2 separate regions of the Homo sapiens genome follow, and region 2 is linked to region 1. The links are contacts of gene promoters, found by promoter capture Hi-C in blood cells and fetal thymus (Javierre and others, 2016). All regions are on one chromosome and are shown on one strand. Each heading gives the region's core, a stretch centred on a gene start or on the middle of the fragment in contact. The rest is flanking DNA. Distances are from core to core; before and after follow the strand shown. Region 1 holds the start of MXI1 (MAX interactor 1, dimerization protein). Region 2 overlaps ABLIM1 (actin binding LIM protein 1).

Region 1 (7,944 bases), core at 4,526-7,025:
GAAAATAGACTCCAGAGGTGAGGACAGGGTGGGTGGTAGGCAGGTGTCCAGGCAGAAGGTCAGGAACTAGAAGCAGCAGATTTTGTATATCCCCCAATGTTGGGTGGGAGGCTGTCTTCCAGATTATTCAGTCCAGGAGTCCTAGGCCCCTAGACTAGGAATGAGGCTTCTTCAACTTTTCTTTCTTTCTTTTTTTTTTTTCTTTCCAAAAAAGAACCAATGGGAAGCAGTCTTTTCCAGAGATGAGGCTGATTGGGTGACCTAAAATGCCAATCTTTTTGCCTTGGGCTAGAATTTTACCAGCTCGATGTGGTCACAATAGTTCTCCCATGCTGTTCCAAATACTTCTGGGCAGTGACATCCCAGTCTGCCATTCATGAACATAAGAGAGATGAATTAATGAAGCTTTCTGGAATGGTGGAGAGAGGTAGACTCTGTGGCAATGGAATACTCCCTTCATCAGCGAGGACACCGAGGCACCAGATGACTAGATTGTTTATTCAAAATTACACAGTGGTTCAGTAGAAGAGTTGGCCCAAAGCCCTGGTCTTCTAATTTCTTCTCCCATTTTCTTGTCATTTTTGTTTTTGTTTTCCCTAAAAATCTTCCAGGACTTTTGTAGCCTGATTCTATCCTGACATGCACACCATTGTTTTTTGTTTTTTGAGATGGGGTCTCACTCTGTCACCCAGGCTGGAGTGCAGTGACGTGATCTCGGCTCACTGCAAGCTCTGCCTCCCGGGTTCAAGCAATTCTCCTGCCTCAGCCTCCAGAGTAGCTGGGATTATAGGCGTGCGCTACTATGCCTGGCTAATTTTTTTGTATTTTTAGTAGAGATGGGGTTTCACCATCTTGGCCAGGCTGGTCTCAAACCCCTGACCTTGTGATCTGCCCGCCTCAACCTCCCAAAGTGCTGGGATTACAGGCATGAGCCATCGCGCCCAGCCACGCACACTACTCTTCACGGTTTCAAAAGTTTCTTCATATATACCCCTTCAGCAAGGCAAGCATTGTTCTTCCCACTTCGTCGATGATAACACGGATTATCTGAGAGGTTAAGTGACTTATACAAGTTCAGCTAGCTGATAATCAGGAGGAAAACCCTTTGCCACTTGCAAACTACCTTGCCCCTTCATCTCTTGATGCCTAATATTTTACCATTAGAATTTTATTCCTTAAAGCTTAAGGCACTGGTCATCTTTAATTCCAAACGCCTCCAGGGAAAGTCATATTTAAGCTAGTCAGTCACTGATACCTGCCACTTTAATGTACATAAATTTAGAGACTTTTGCTGAATTAATTAAAAAATATGGAGATGTTAAAGAACTGGGGCCTGAAAGACTGAGAAGACACTCTAGAATGGGGGAGATGTGAGAAAAGCTCCATCTGACTTCTAATTTAGTCTCAGGCCACTGCCTTCACCGCCTGGTGATTTCTGAAAATTCTTCATTAGAGGCATCTTATAACACAGGAGACCCATCTTGTCACCAGATCTGTCACCAGCAGTAAGGACAGGGGACAGGGCAGCTGAGTCTCTGCACTTTTTTGTAATGGAACCTCAACCATCTGGCTCAATGGGTTTCTGGCTTCTCCATGGAGACAGCATTTAGATATTTAAACTTTAATGTGAGTGACTCAGGAATAGTTTTGCAGACAGCATCAAATGCCTCTTCTCACCACTGGAACGAGAAGCCATGAACGGCCGGCACCGAGGCTCTGACCAGGCAGGGAAGGGCATTCATGCCTTTGACTCGTGACCTAAGCCCCAGTATTATGCCATGCATGTGCTAGGTGCCAGGGCCTGGGGATGCTAGGAGGAGCAAGGTGTGCTTCCTGCCCTTGATGAGCTCATAGTCTAATAAGCCCTCTAAGTACTGGGTGTTGGACAGGAGAAGCCCAGGAGTCTGCTGAACCAGGAAGAGGCTGCCAGACTCACAGTTCTGGGAGAAAGGAGGGCAGAGTCCAGGAGAGCTGAGATAATGCCTCCAGGAGCAGGTGACACCCAGTGAACTCCACTGTAGGGCGGAGGCTACTTATCCCCTGCCCATGTCTATACCCACTGGTGAGTGTGTGGGTGGTGGTGGGTGGTATGGGCAGTGGTTAGAGGAGGCCTGGTCAGCACTTTTAGGCCATGGGAGAGGCAGAGTCTCACAGTTCTCCTTGTTCCTACCATTCTGCTTGTGTCTTACAGTTCCTAACCCTCTATTCTTGGGCCTTCTACAGGGCCACTCCTTTCTAACAAATGAAAGCAAGAGTCAGGCCCCCAAGGAGAAGGAGCTGTGAGCCAGTTCCTCATCTCACTGCCAGATGATTCCTTTCCAAAAGGGAAAGGTACCCAGGAAAACTGTGGCTGGGAAAGCTCTGAGAATTAGGACTCAAGTGACAAGGGAGGGGACAGAAGAGCTCTTCATGGTGTTTGCCAAGTCTGAGTACAAAGATCACAGGGCAAAGAGTAAGAAAGAATCTGACTAGGACATTTTGGCAAGGTCCAAGGAGAAACTAGAGGGTGGACGAGTGACGGATTTAGGCAGAAAAGGCTGGTGAGTGGGGAATAGATGAGGCAGGAAGAGCAAGGCTAAGGAACCCAAGAGAGCCAAAATGGTCCATGACAGAGGGAAGAGCATCCCATCCCAATGCAAGGTGGGTAGGTTTCGATGGCAACGCATCCATCGCCTTCTCAGTAATTAACCAGCCTCTGTGTACATAAAGACATAATTATAGGCCAAACAACTCCTTTGATGTAAGAGTATAGAACGTCTGGGGGGAAAGGGGCAAATAAAAGAAAGAACAATCTTGCTTTAATATACAAACAAGGTCCATGGAAAGGTATTGCCAAACAAGCAAATAAGCCAAACAAACAAATGAACAGAGTGTTGGGAAAGCAGGACCCAGGCCGACTGGGCACCCAAGATATCCCGGGCCCTCTGAGAGCATTCTAGCTGACTTCATTGGGCATTTCTGCTTTTCTTTCAAAGAGTTCACATGTGTTCTCATCAGAATGGCTGTATTCACATCCCCTACCTGTTCTATGCAGAAATTCTCAGCATTTCCAAAGGGGCCTGTTTACTTCTGGAATCAAAACCCCAAAGAAAGGGGGGGTTGCAAAGGGTTTGAATGGCTCCTCCTGGGAAGCAAATCTAATCGGGAATGGAGCTGAGCTTGTAACCCAGCATCCTGGATGCCTGTCCTGTGATATAACCCCTGAAACACCACTCTTTCTGTTGGGGCCAACTTTATTAGAGAAATCTGTTAATTGGGGAACGGAGCGGGAGAAGGGAGAGAGCAATGGGATGTTAATATGATTTAACACTTGATGGGCTCTGAAAACAAATAAGGAGGGGGCTTCGGGCTTTAGCTTGGCACATTCGTCGTTCCACATACGTGTTACCAAAATGAATATATGCAACTAAACTATATGCGAGACTCTGGGGGCACAGTAACACAGACTTTGTGAAACAAAAAGGCATTTCTCCTGCTTCCACTGTGTCTCTTGTGGTGCCATTGTCTGATGCTAAGAACTCACATAATAACAAAAAACAATGCCCCTATGATGGGGGGAAAACTTGATTTGGCACCAGCCGTGGTGTTTTCCATGGGAATGATGGTGGGGGCTGTGGCCGACTGTGGGAATAGTGCAAATCAGCACTTTTTTGTAGATTTTCTTCAAGCCATTGTTTATTTTGGCTTTGGTCAGATCCGTGGCCCAGCTTGAAGATTCCCACTGGGCTTTCTGAAACTCGCAGACCTATGAGAGATGGAACAGGGATAAATAAATAATTACAAAACACCCTTCCCCCACCATGGCACTCATGCATGCGTGTGCCTGTCTTGGTGGTGCATGTATGTTGCAGTACTATACATCTGACCCATGCCACCAATGGGCAATTAAAGAGAAAGCAAGGTTTTCTCTGGGCTTAGCTGGTTCATTGTCTCAGTACCATCTTTCATTTGGGGCAAGAGAGATCAGAGCTGTTTCACACAAGGGCCAGTTTTTGCAAAATGGCATTGGAGAAAGCTTGTTTGAAACTGTGCATACATGAGGTCTTCCTAACATTTTTAGATGTTTACAGGCATTTCAACACGAATAACTCAGGTTGTGGTTCTCACAGAAGCAAAAAATCAGTAATTGTTCTAATAATGGAAGATAAACTTTTTTTTTTTTTTTTTTTGAGACGGAGTCTGGCTCTGTCGCCCAGGCTGGAGTGCAGTGGCGCTATCTCGGCTCACTACAAGCTCCGCCTCCCGGGTTCACGCCATTCTCCTGCCTCAGCCTCCGGAGTAGCTGGGATTACAGGCATGCGCCACCACGCCCGGCTAATTTTGTATTTTTGGTAGAGACAGCGTTTCTCTATGTTGGTCAGGCTGGTCGCGAACTCCCAACCTCAGGTGATCTGCCCGCTTTGGCCTCCCAAAGTGCTGGGATTACAGGCGTGAGCCACTGCGTCCGGCCATCAAGAGTTTTTATGACAATGTGTATGAAGCTGCCTTTGAGTAGGGTGGCTGCATCGCACACCTCCAGGGGGCAGCATTGTCTTTGTCCTCTATATAAATGGTTCCCCTGGAGGAAAACTCCAGGTGACCTTGCAAAGTAACCATATTTAGATGGGCTTGTCATAGAGATATTTTCCAAGGAAGTGCAGAAGAGTCTTGTTCACTACATCTTGTTCCTTTCTTAGATACAAGTTACATCAGAATAGGGGACTCAGGCTCTTGCCTGGGTCTGGATTGGAAGAAAAAGAGCTTACCATGGGCCAGAGTGTGCTAAGTCAGATACAATACACAAGCATCTTATCACACATTTCAATGATGTGGAAACTTAGGCCAAGAGAGGTTAAGGGACTTGTCCAAGCTCACACAGTCTGTATGCAGCAGAGCTGGGATTTGAACCCTTTCCTATGGCACCCTAGAGCAGCCTTCAATCATCCCCTGACACCTCCAGTACTTCCCAGGGCTGGAAAGCATCCATGATTGCGGACAGCAGTGGCAGTGAAACAATGTCAGCTGGGGTAGGGGTTTTCAGAGGCAAAAGGTGGAATTCAGCTGGGGAGGGGGGTGGTTCCTGAGCTGCCACTTCTGCCTCTCAAATTAAAGGGAGCCAGGTGTGGAGGCATCCTGGTGTGAGCTTTGCACAGCTGAACCAAGGCTGGGCAGAGGAGTGTGGAGAGGGATGCTGACATCTCCTCCCACTTCTGGAAAATAACTTTGCATTTGAAGGGAGAAAGGCATGAGTAAATCTGTAACTCGGATTTGGACGGCCTGGGATTTCATTTGACTGTGTGAAGGCACACACAGGTGCCTCGCAAGTGTGTGCGTGATTACGTATGTATGTGTGTCTGTGAGTAGGAGTGTTTGTGTTGGGGGTGGGGGGATCTTCTGGTTACACACTGGTTCCCTTCTTCCCATTTGGATTGGGGAGCTTTTATTTATTTATTTTTAAGTCATAGCAGCCACCATGTATGGGGACCTAACTATGTGCCAGGCATTGTGCTGGACACTTTCTGAGGCATTATTTTTCTGTGAAAAAAGTAGTTTGTTTTTATGCAGGTGCACCCAGAGACATCAGGTATTTTTTTCCATTCCGGTTAAAAGACAGTGTTCTACTCTGTGGTAAGCCTTGGGGAGAGGCAGGGAAGCCTGCGGGGACGGGCAGGGGCGGTCCCTGCCTCGCTCGCTAGTCTCCACCTTTTATTTTGACCGGTCCGATGGCGACAGGCTCGCACTAGGACCCAGGCGCCAGAGTGCCTCCGTCTGTCCTGTAGGTTCATTCAATCTCCCATACACACAGACTCACAGCGAGACCGACACACACTCCCATACACTCACACACACAACTGCAGGCAGCGAGGCTCGGGAAGTCAGGCCGGCTTTTCGCCCCGGCGCCTTCTCTGCTCCAGCCGGCCGGGTCTCCCTGGGGGCCCGGAGCTCGGCCGGGCCGCGCAGCCCCGTTAGAGGACGAGCTCGGCGGACCCCCGCTCCTCCATGGGCAAACGCGGGCGGCCGCGCAAGGAGGCGCGCTGCGAGGGCGCGGGGCTGGCCCCCGCCGCGCCCCCGGCTGTGCCCCCCGCCGTGGCCGCGCCCCAGCCCCCGGCCCTGCCCGAGGACCCCGCTGGGGCCAAGCCCAGGTGCCCCTTCTCAGACATTTTCAACACCAGCGAGAACTCGATGGAGAAGCACATCAACACTTTTCTGCAGAACGTGCAGATTCTGCTCGAGGCCGCCAGCTACCTGGAGCAGATCGAGAAAGAAAACAAAAGTAAGTTTGGGGGCCCCTGCTCTTCCTCGGCGCCCGGTTCTTTCTTTCTCGCCCACTTGGGCGACCCCTGTTGCGAGCTCGGCCCGTCCCCCCCCCGCCCAACATACACATCCAGCCCTTGGCAGTAAAGCCGATGACACCGGAGAAAGGACACGCACGCACAAAGCTGCTAAAGATGTAACAAAGACGGGCGAGGGGGAGAGGGGCCTGTCGGTGCGTCGGTCTGTCCTCTCCGGCGGGCTGGGGCTGGGAGGATGGCCCAGCGGAGGAGCGGGGGAGTGTTGTTGTTTGCTGACAACTGAGCCGAGAGCTCATCTCTTTGAGGTCGCTTTTCTTCCTTTTTTTTTTTTTTTTTTCCGGAGCCTTCTCAGGCAGACAAGTGTTGTTTTTCTGTTGCTCGTTCCTGGGTGGGGTGGGGATTAGAAGCCGAAAGTTGGAAACCATAGGCAGAGCTCAGAGGTTCCAGAAAGAAAACACACAGACACACACTACAACAATAACAACCAAACAGCTCTCCACGGCGTGGGCTCGGCTCTGTCTCTCTCTCTCCCTCCTACTTCGCCTTTTTCCTTCCCTCTAGCAGCAGGACTGGGCTCAGGCCATCACGTCTACGGACACAGTCCCCCTGCACGTCCGTTGCCGTGGGGTGCCACCGCCGCCCCCCCCCCCCCAAAGAAGGAGGCCGGCGGGGCCAAGCAACGCCAGCAGCTCGCCCCGGACACGCCGTCCTGAGCCCGGGAAACTTGGCCGTGGGGACGCGGCTAGAAGGAAACTTTGGGATCTTTGAGAAACAATAGTTGGGGAAGAAGGTGTGGGCTGTTCTGTGCTTTTTCTTTATTTTCCGGGAGACGGCTCTTGAGTGAGCGCACAGGGCAAGCAAGGCAAACGCCTTCCTGGTCGATTTCTACTCCCCCCACCCGCCCACCCCCAGATTCACGTGGATAGTAGTGCGTGGGTGGGGGTGTGCTGGGAACCCCACCCTGGCCTGGCTTCTTTTTTGTATTTATTTGTTTCATTTTTGCCCCTACCAGCCAGGTCACCCAGCTTTCCCCAGGCAGTCGACTCAGCGCCCTAACGGGGGCACGCGTGTGCAGCGTATCCAGCACCGTCCTCAGAATAATAGCTGTGAAAAGGAGGAAGGGAACTAGGCAGACAGACCGACAGATAGGGGGAAACCGGGATGTTTAATGTGTCCGAACAAGTAGGAAGATCAATGAGGCGCGAGTGTGTGTGTGTACGTGTGCGCGTGTGTGTGTGAGAGAGAGAGAAAGAAAGAAGAAAGGTCCCGATTGCAACGTGTCAGATCTTGCAACCTTCCCCCCACCCAACACAACAACCCTCAGACACAAAAACACCATTGCTGACTGATACCCCAGGTCTTCAGGGTTAAAGGAACCGTGTGTTGGCAGCGCAATTGTGCAGACGCTGTAAGGCCAAAACGAGGATTTGTGTTGTGAGGTCGGTGGTGCGTTCTTTTCTTTCTCTTCTCGCCTGTTTTCCCGGAGTGCCTGGGTTGCGAGAAAGGCGCATCGCAGGCTGTGCAGCCGAATCGCTTCGCAATTATTCATGCTGGTCGGAGGGGGATGGGGCGCGGGAAGCTATGTGTGCATTTGTCTGGAGGGTAGTTTCTGAAAAGCCAGAGCTGGTGGGGAGCTGGGTGAAGACGTGGTTTTGTTTGGTGTGTTTGCTTT
Region 2 (7,944 bases), core at 3,451-5,950, 4.3 Mb after region 1:
ACTTTAAAGGGCGGGGAGGGGGGCCACAGTACAATGTGGGTCTGTACTTTTTTGCGATAAACTGTGTTCACAGCAGGACAAAAAACTTGGGATTTTTAGGATTTCACAGAAATTGCCTCATAATCAACCACAATGTTGAAGCTAAAGTTTGTCTGAAACCTTCCTCATCATGCAAATCTTTTATTAGCTCGTCACCTGTATGTGGTGCTGTGCTGGCAGAAAGTTAGGCTGAAACAAAACCCCCTTTGGAAACATAGTAACGCTGCACGGGCTGACATGGATCCCCGTGGATGTGCCCACCAGACACATGGGACCATGTGAGACGAACAAGACATCATCTGTGTCTGCTGGTAGTTATTTACACACATACTTTTTTTTTTTGGTATTTGTCATGTTTTCTTAGTGTATGGTAAAGGATTTTACCACTATGTGGTCATTAAAAAGAATGTCATCATCCTATAAGCATCAACACTGAGTTACTGCCAAGTGAAGGAAATTGTAGAACAACATGCATAAAACGGTCCTATTTGTATAAAAGAATACATGCCCTCCCACAGGTATCTATGTGCAAGAAACAGGAGCAAAGCAAGATACAGAACTCTACATCCTATATGAAAAAATTTACATGATCCAACCCCGTATTTGTAAGTATCTGCATGCCAGTGACACTATAGACCCAACTCTCAACAATAGCTACCTCTGGGAGTGGGTTTTTTTAAAGTAATGTGAGCTTATTGTAAATAAATAACTGAATAAGTACACTTCTTTGTACTTCTCTGAACCACATGCAATGGGCCAGATAGTACATATTTTCAGCTTTGTGGACTACGCTGTCTCTGTCTCAGCTACTCAAGGCTGGTATGGGCTAAAGCAGACCTAGAGACTATGTAAATGAACAGACGTGGTCCTGTGCCAATAAAGCTTAGGGAGTAAGTGGAGAATGTTTACTTTTTACCTGATACCAAGATTGGCAGCCCATAGGTGAAACCTGGCCCACTACCTGTTTTTTGTAAATAAAGCTTTATTGGAACAGAACCATGTCTGTTCATTTACATAGTCTCTAGGTCTGCTTTAGCCCATACGTAGCTGAGACAGAGACAGCATAGTCCACAAGGCTGAAAATATGTACTATCTGGCCCATTACATGTGATTCAGAGAAGTACAAACAAGTGTACTTACTCAGTTATTCATTTATTTATTTACGATGAGCTCACACTACTTAAAAAAAAAAACTTTTAGAAGTTGTCTGCTCAGACAGTGGCAGGGGATGCCTGGACAATCATCAACAATCTTCCTAGAAGCAGGTGGGAACTTGGGAGTTTTTAGGATGAGACAAGAAAAGCTCCATAGGCATGGGAAAGGGAAGTTGTTTAAAAACAAAGTGAAATAAAGGTTTGAGCAAAAATCTTTTGAATATCTACTCAATCCCCACACACCCTGCCTCCCTGTAATGGCTTTAATATTCCAAAAGACTTTGAAAGATAGCTTTGGTTTGTACAGCAAGCAGAGAAGTAGTTCAAGAGGCAGCCTGGGGGAGGTGCAGAGGGGATAGAGAAGCACTGAGCTGCTCTGAGGTCTACTTTTGCCTTACTAACCAATGGGCTGTGTGTTCCTAGGAAAATCACTCAGGTTTTCTGGGTCTCAGTGTCCTCAACTCTCAGAGGTTTAGACTAGATTAAATCTGTGGAACTTTCCTGCTAATGATATTTCTGGGAGTCCTAAGCAGGTATCACCTTGAACACAGAAAAGGAGGTAGAGAAGAGATCTTCCTGGTTGGTGCAAGGCCAGGTCCGGGAACCAGCCGGCCAGGTTGCAGCCTTTTTTCCCCGCCCAGCACATGTTGGGTGTGAGCGAGTGCAGATTAGGCAAGGCCCCAATTATCCCTCGGCTGGGAGAGGCAAGTGTGAACAATGAATCAGTCAGAAACTCCTTTCCAATATCCTCATCACACAGACAGTTAAATTGCAAACCACAAGACATATTTATTAATGAGTACATCCAAGGCCATCAGGCCATTTAAGAAGTTGTATTAAAAGGGCAAAAATCCCTCCAATCTTGCTCAGGGATGGTTAAAGGGTTCAGGGGTCCCTGCTCTTTGTGATGGATAGAGGAGCCAAATGACACATCAGGGTTCGCCCACAGATCCCTCATACATGCCATGGTTGAGCACTTCTCACTGGTCCTACCCCCAGTGCTGAGGGCCTTTTGAGTTTTTGACATCCATAAATAACCTGTGGGTACTACCTCCCTGCTTAGCTCACCACCAACCCAGGAAAAAAGGAACCAGCTGGGTTACCCCCAAACCTGGGTGAAACTGGATTATGTGCCAAGGAAAGCTTTGACGGACCAGTCTGGCAAGGCTGCAGCCTCTGCCCTGTTGGAGCTGTCATCTGGAGTTGTCCTGTGCTGGAAAATTCAAGCTGTAAGACAACAAGGGACTCCATCCCTAGAGGCCAGCACAGGCTTCAGGCTCATGCCTGAAGACTCCCACTGCAGAGGGTACACCCTCAGCTGCTGAAGCCTCTGGGCAGGGCCATAGTAAACAGTCTCCACCTCAACTCTCTATAGACAGAAGTCTTAATCATTTTAGAATTGGCTCCATGGAGTCACAGCTCCAAGCCAGCTTACAGCATTACATTTATATGTCGACAAGGGCTTCTGATCTTGGCCTTCTGTTCTGCAGTGGAACATCCTGGGGCCAATCAACCTCACAAACACCGGTGTCAAGGCAGGTGATGAACAGCACTTGGTTATATTAAAAATGTAGAAGAACTCTGTCAGGTTTAAAATTCTTAGGCATTTTCCTAGTCTTTTCTGCTTGAAATTGCTACCTACAGTTGTCATGGTGGTTTCCTTGGTGTAAGTTTCATATTCTAGGGGAAATCAGTGCCATCGTGGGAGCTAAAAAAAGGAGAACTCATTCCCAGGGCTGCCAATTGTAACCCTGGATTAAAGTGCCATGTGACTCAGCAGCTGCTTAACTTTTGACTAATAGATTTGTTTACATAAGAAGAATGAGAGGGTTTAAGCAATCAATGACGTCCTATCGGTTAAAAAAAGAAAAAAAAGAAAGAAAGAAAAATGACGTAGGCTGGGTGTGGTGCTTCATGCCTGTAATCCCAGCACTTCAGGAGGCCAAGGCAGGAGGACCACTTGAGGCCAGGAGTTAAGAGAGCAGCCTGGGCAACATAGTGAGACCCTGTCTCTAAAAAATAATAATAAAAAAAAATTAGCTGGGCATGATGGCATGCACCTGTAGTCCCGGGACTCAGGAGACTGAGGCAGGGAATCTCTGGAGCCCAGGAGTTTGAGGCTGCAGTAAGTTATGACTGTGCCACTGTGCTCCAGTCTGGACAACAGAGTGAGACCCTGTTTCTAAAAAAACAATAAAAATAAGTGACTTAAGATACAGCAGCTAGTTATCCTTAGAGATGTCACTGGATTATGAACTGATAGGCTCATGTTTATGTTTATAAATAGTATAAATAATATGTATAAGCTCAAATAATAGGGATGAGAAGGGAGGAGGTGAGGTCTTAGGTTTCATTCATTTGGCAAAAGCCTGTGATGAACCTGTGGGTCAGGCACTGGACACCTGATGAGGAGGAAAGAAAGGCTGTATAATCTGCGCTACCAAGAAGAAATCTGTATTCAATTCCTGGCCCTGCAGTAATCATCTGTACGCCTTTCGGCAACTGCTCTGGGCCTCAGTTTACTTACTTGCAAAACAAAGATGAGAGTCATACTCAAGCCATAGAGTTGATGAAAGGACTTTGATGAAGTATGCTTATAAAGTGCTAAGGCAATAAGAACAAACAATAATTACAACCATAACCACCTTTATTACACATTCCTGTCCTCAAGAGCTTAGTATGCAGAGCTTAGCAAACAGGTGACTGTAACTGGATAAGATGGTTAGTGTAATGTACAAAGTGAGGTGGGTGTGGGGAGAAAATTCTCCAAGGCTACTGTCTTGGGGAGTCAAAGAGGAATCACAGGAGAGAAGCTCTTAGACTTAAAAGAGAGTAGAAATTTACTCGGTAGTCAACCCCCCTCCTTTCCCCGCTCCTTCTTTCCTTCCTTCCCTCTCCTTTTCCCTCCCATTCATCCATCCTTCTATCCATCCACTCATCCTCTTATTGGGCACCAACCTTCTATCAGATGATGTTTTAGTTTCGGGGATATGATAGTACCTGTCATAAGCATACATTCTTGCAATGAGTGACAGATACTAGACATGGATACAAGCAGATAAGAATTCCAGATAGTCGGGGAACAGTGCCATGAAGAACCTAAAACAGAACCAGGGGAGAGAAGATGGCCTAGGGGTTGGGCAGGTGGAAGCAACTTTAGCTAGGTGATTAGAGGATACCTCTCCAAGTCAAAAGAGGCAGGTTGAATAATGAGAAGGAAGCCAAGATCTGGAGGAAGAATGTGCCAGGCTCAGGGAGCAGTGAAAGCCCAGAGATGGACAGTGTCTGTGCTTGAGGGGCAGAAAGAAGGCTAGCAGGGCTGGAATGAAAGAGGAGGGAAGATGTAGGTAATCAGAAACTTAATCTCAGAGGGCTGCATAAGCCAGGAGAAGATATTTCAACAGATTTTCAAAATTCCAAGGTTTAAAGGCAAAACAAAAACCCAGTCGAACACATGTTTTCCTCATGCTTTAGAACTCTTTTCAAACCACAAAGGAAACCTGGCAATCCACCCCACCCCCCACTTATTCCCTAAACTTCGTTATATAAGGGCCAACATCTTCTTTCATCTGTTGCCAGACCAGATACATTTGGCATCCTAAACAAGTTGCCAAAACAAAGCAGAAAGCTCAGCTTAAACTCTGTTAGAGGATGTTCTAAACTTCACAAAACACAATTCTCTATGTTTTCAAGTATGTTTATTTGGACAAGGTATACGGATATGAGCACAGACATAAGGAACCAGCTGCACAGAACCAAGACAATCTAGTAAAAAATTACTATTCAGCAGTAAGGAAAGATAAAAGCAGTCTTAAGTGTAAACAAGTATTTTTGCTTCATCTAGTGTTTATGAGCAACAAATGGCCTCAGTGTGAACCAGCAATGCTGAGAAGGACACAAACACGTATTTGCTAAAAACATTCCAGGCTTGGCGAATAATAAAGCAGCAGGGTTTGTTTCCTCTTTGATGAAGGTCCCCTCCCGTCAAAGGCTGCACCTTAAGCCTCTGCAGCTTAAGGTACAAGAAAGGCTCACGCTTGCTCATTCCCAGGGCTCTGCTTAGAAGCATGTAGCTAGGCCAGGTGCGGTGGCTCACGCCTGTAATCCCAGCACTTTGGGAGGCTGAAGCGGGTGGATCACTTGAGGTCAGGAGTTGAAGACCAGCCTAGCCAACATGGTGAAACCCCATCTCTACTAAAAACACAAAAAATTAGCCGGGCATGGTGGCACACACCTGTAATCCCAGTTACTCGGAGGGTGAGGCAGGAGAATCGCTTGAACCCAGGAGGTGGAGGTTGCAGTGAGCCAAGATTGCACCACTGCACTCCAGCCTGGGTGACAGAGCAAGACTCCATCTCAAAAAACAAAACAAAACAAAAAAATCCATGGAGCTGGGGTTGGTTTGTGAACCAAAGCAAGAGATTGAGAGGATCTTTGGCTTCTCTGTCTCTCACTACGGCATCTTTACATTCTGCACAGTCTGGAAACTTCCAATTTCAAGACATCTGCCCCATCTGCACCCCCCTTGCCCTGATAACCTGGTTCAGAGAACCAGGTAGGTTCTCTGGGCAGCACCACCTGACTCCCCACAGGACACATAGATCAACAAGGGCCGTTTTTTCACCTCTGATCATAAGCTCTTTCAACTGGCGAGTTTTCTTAAAGAGGTGGTAAATACCTTGCCTTTGGGTCAGACCCTATGGTTAGTGTGCTCTTTATCTTATTGAAACCATGAAGAAGCATTAACCTGTGGGGTTTATAATAAGAGCAGAAATTTAATTTCTGGGCCTTATGAAGGCCCAAATTCTACAACCCACAGACCCACTCTTCCTGCATCCTTCAAAGAGTTTTCTGGTAGCCCCTCAGACATTAAAACCTGCTTAGATGGTGACTGGATTTGTCCTCTTTAAAAAATTACAGAAATATGGACACAGGCTGCAGACATGTGGCTTGCTGACCAAGCTCCTGGGTGGTCTTTCCATAGAAATCATTGACATTCATTTGTCTGTTCATCAATGACTGAGCAAATAGTATGAGCAGGCACTGTGCTATATCCTGGGGGCAAATAGACCTAAAATGCTCACATTTGCTGCACTCAGGGATCTTTGGTCTACTGAATGGGGGGAGAGGGTGAATTTTAATTACGAAGAACTGTTACTTAGAGAGCACATGGTGTGTGTCACATTGGTACCTCCAGGTGGAGAGAAATGCAAGATTTGCTTTGCAATCAAAAGCAGAAACCACAGCTCTCTGATAACATTATGGGCCAGTCCAGGTCTGTCACCAAGAATAGACTTCAATAAGTCAAGGTGTTTCCCTATCTGTTCAGCCAATGCTAAGCACCACTAAGCACTATGCAGTGGTACATCTCATCTGGTTTGGGTGGTGGTGGTAGCTCCTGGAAGTCACGGTGCTCAGTGCAATGTACTATATTCTTGGAGAAACACCAAGAAAAAGCAGCACTCGCAGCTTCATGCATTTTGTAATCTGTAAACCTTTGAGAGCAAACAAGCAGTAGCATTAATGCTAAAGGTGTAAGAAAAATTTTAAACGGAAAAAATCCCAGCCATTGACTTCATCGTTATCTGTAAATTGGAAAAAAGCTGTGATTCTTCAATTGCACTCACAAAACAAGGCCCAATTCCTAAAAAAATCAAAACAGTTTGAGACCCACTGGTACAGATGGCGAAAAGAAAAAAGAAATGAAAGCATTCACTTGCAGATTCTAGAAGAAAAAAAAACTAACAGGCATGGCCAGATTTACTAAAAACCCACATTACAAACAAACAAACAACAACAACAACAAAAAACTCTATATTTACAGAAGGGAAAAGTATGGGTAACTATTTGCTTTATAAAATGGATCACTGTATAAGCTTCTTTTTAAAAAAAGACAAAATAGTATATCCCCAGAATGCACTTTAGAATTCAATTGAAAGAAGTTTGACTACTATACCAATCATAGCACTGTATAAAATAAGTCCCACAAGGGCACAGAAGGAAAAGGGGGCAGAAGAATGTATATCCGCAGCAAGTCCTTGAATCTGATACCCCATTCCCAAGATGTGATTTCAGACAAAACCCAAACAAAATAAAAACCAAATGGTCAGGCAAAAACACCTGTCCTGCCACTGTTCCTTGGACCCCGCCAGGCCTCCCTGGGACTCCAGCCTCCTCTCATAGACCCTTCCCCCTCGTTGGCAGCAGTAGGCCCCAAGACAGGTTTCCCTCTAGCAGTGATTCCCAACCAGGGGCATTTTGCCCACAGGGAATATTTAACAGTGTCTGAAGATATCTCTGGTTCTCACAGCTGGGGAGGGAGTGCTACTGTCGCCTGGTGTGTAGAGATCAAGGATGCTACTAGACATCCCATAGACAGTCCCCTGCAACAAACTATAATCCCATCCAAAATGTCAATAATGCTGAGGTTGAGAAACCCTGTTCTACAGGAGCCAAAATCATGACCATCCCTCCAGAAAGTCAGGTTACAAGAACTGAGTAGTTCACTTTCTGTCCTTTTAGGTGAGCTATTGTTTAGTTGAAGAGAAAAATCTGCAGGCTTCTGTTGTCAGGATATAATATTCCCTGAGCTTACTGGATAAGCCACTGATGCGAGGATTAGACTCACTGACACATGAAAATGCTTAGGCAACCGCCTCGAAAACATTGGTCAAAACATTCTAAGTGTTATAAGGGATGCTTGGCAAGGCCTCACGCTTAGTCTTAAAAAGCCTTCTCAAAAGTAATTTAT

The links. Contacts are between HindIII fragments. The CHiCAGO score rates a contact against its expected background, and 5 or more counts as called.
Region 2: a contact is called between a fragment that was not itself captured here and the fragment with the promoter of MXI1 in region 1, in 1 of 17 cell types (naive CD8 T cells). The highest score is 5.6, in naive CD8 T cells.

Annotation. Positions count from the first base shown.
Region 1 is chr10:110,201,830-110,209,773 of GRCh38, forward strand. MXI1 (MAX interactor 1, dimerization protein) reads left to right here and starts at 5,776. Exons shown (of 6, transcript NM_130439.3): 1 at 5,776-6,253. The coding sequence starts at 5,980. RefSeq lists an enhancer at 3,857-4,357 and a silencer at 5,947-6,026. The HindIII fragment of the contact is 6,685 bases long and covers 4,014-7,944 here.
Region 2 is chr10:114,517,600-114,525,543 of GRCh38, forward strand. All of the region lies in intron 6 of ABLIM1 (actin binding LIM protein 1), which reads right to left. Among named protein-coding and RNA genes, the nearest start is that of AFAP1L2, 120 kb to the left of the region's middle. RefSeq lists an enhancer at 1,309-1,828. The HindIII fragment of the contact is 4,733 bases long and covers 2,335-7,067 here.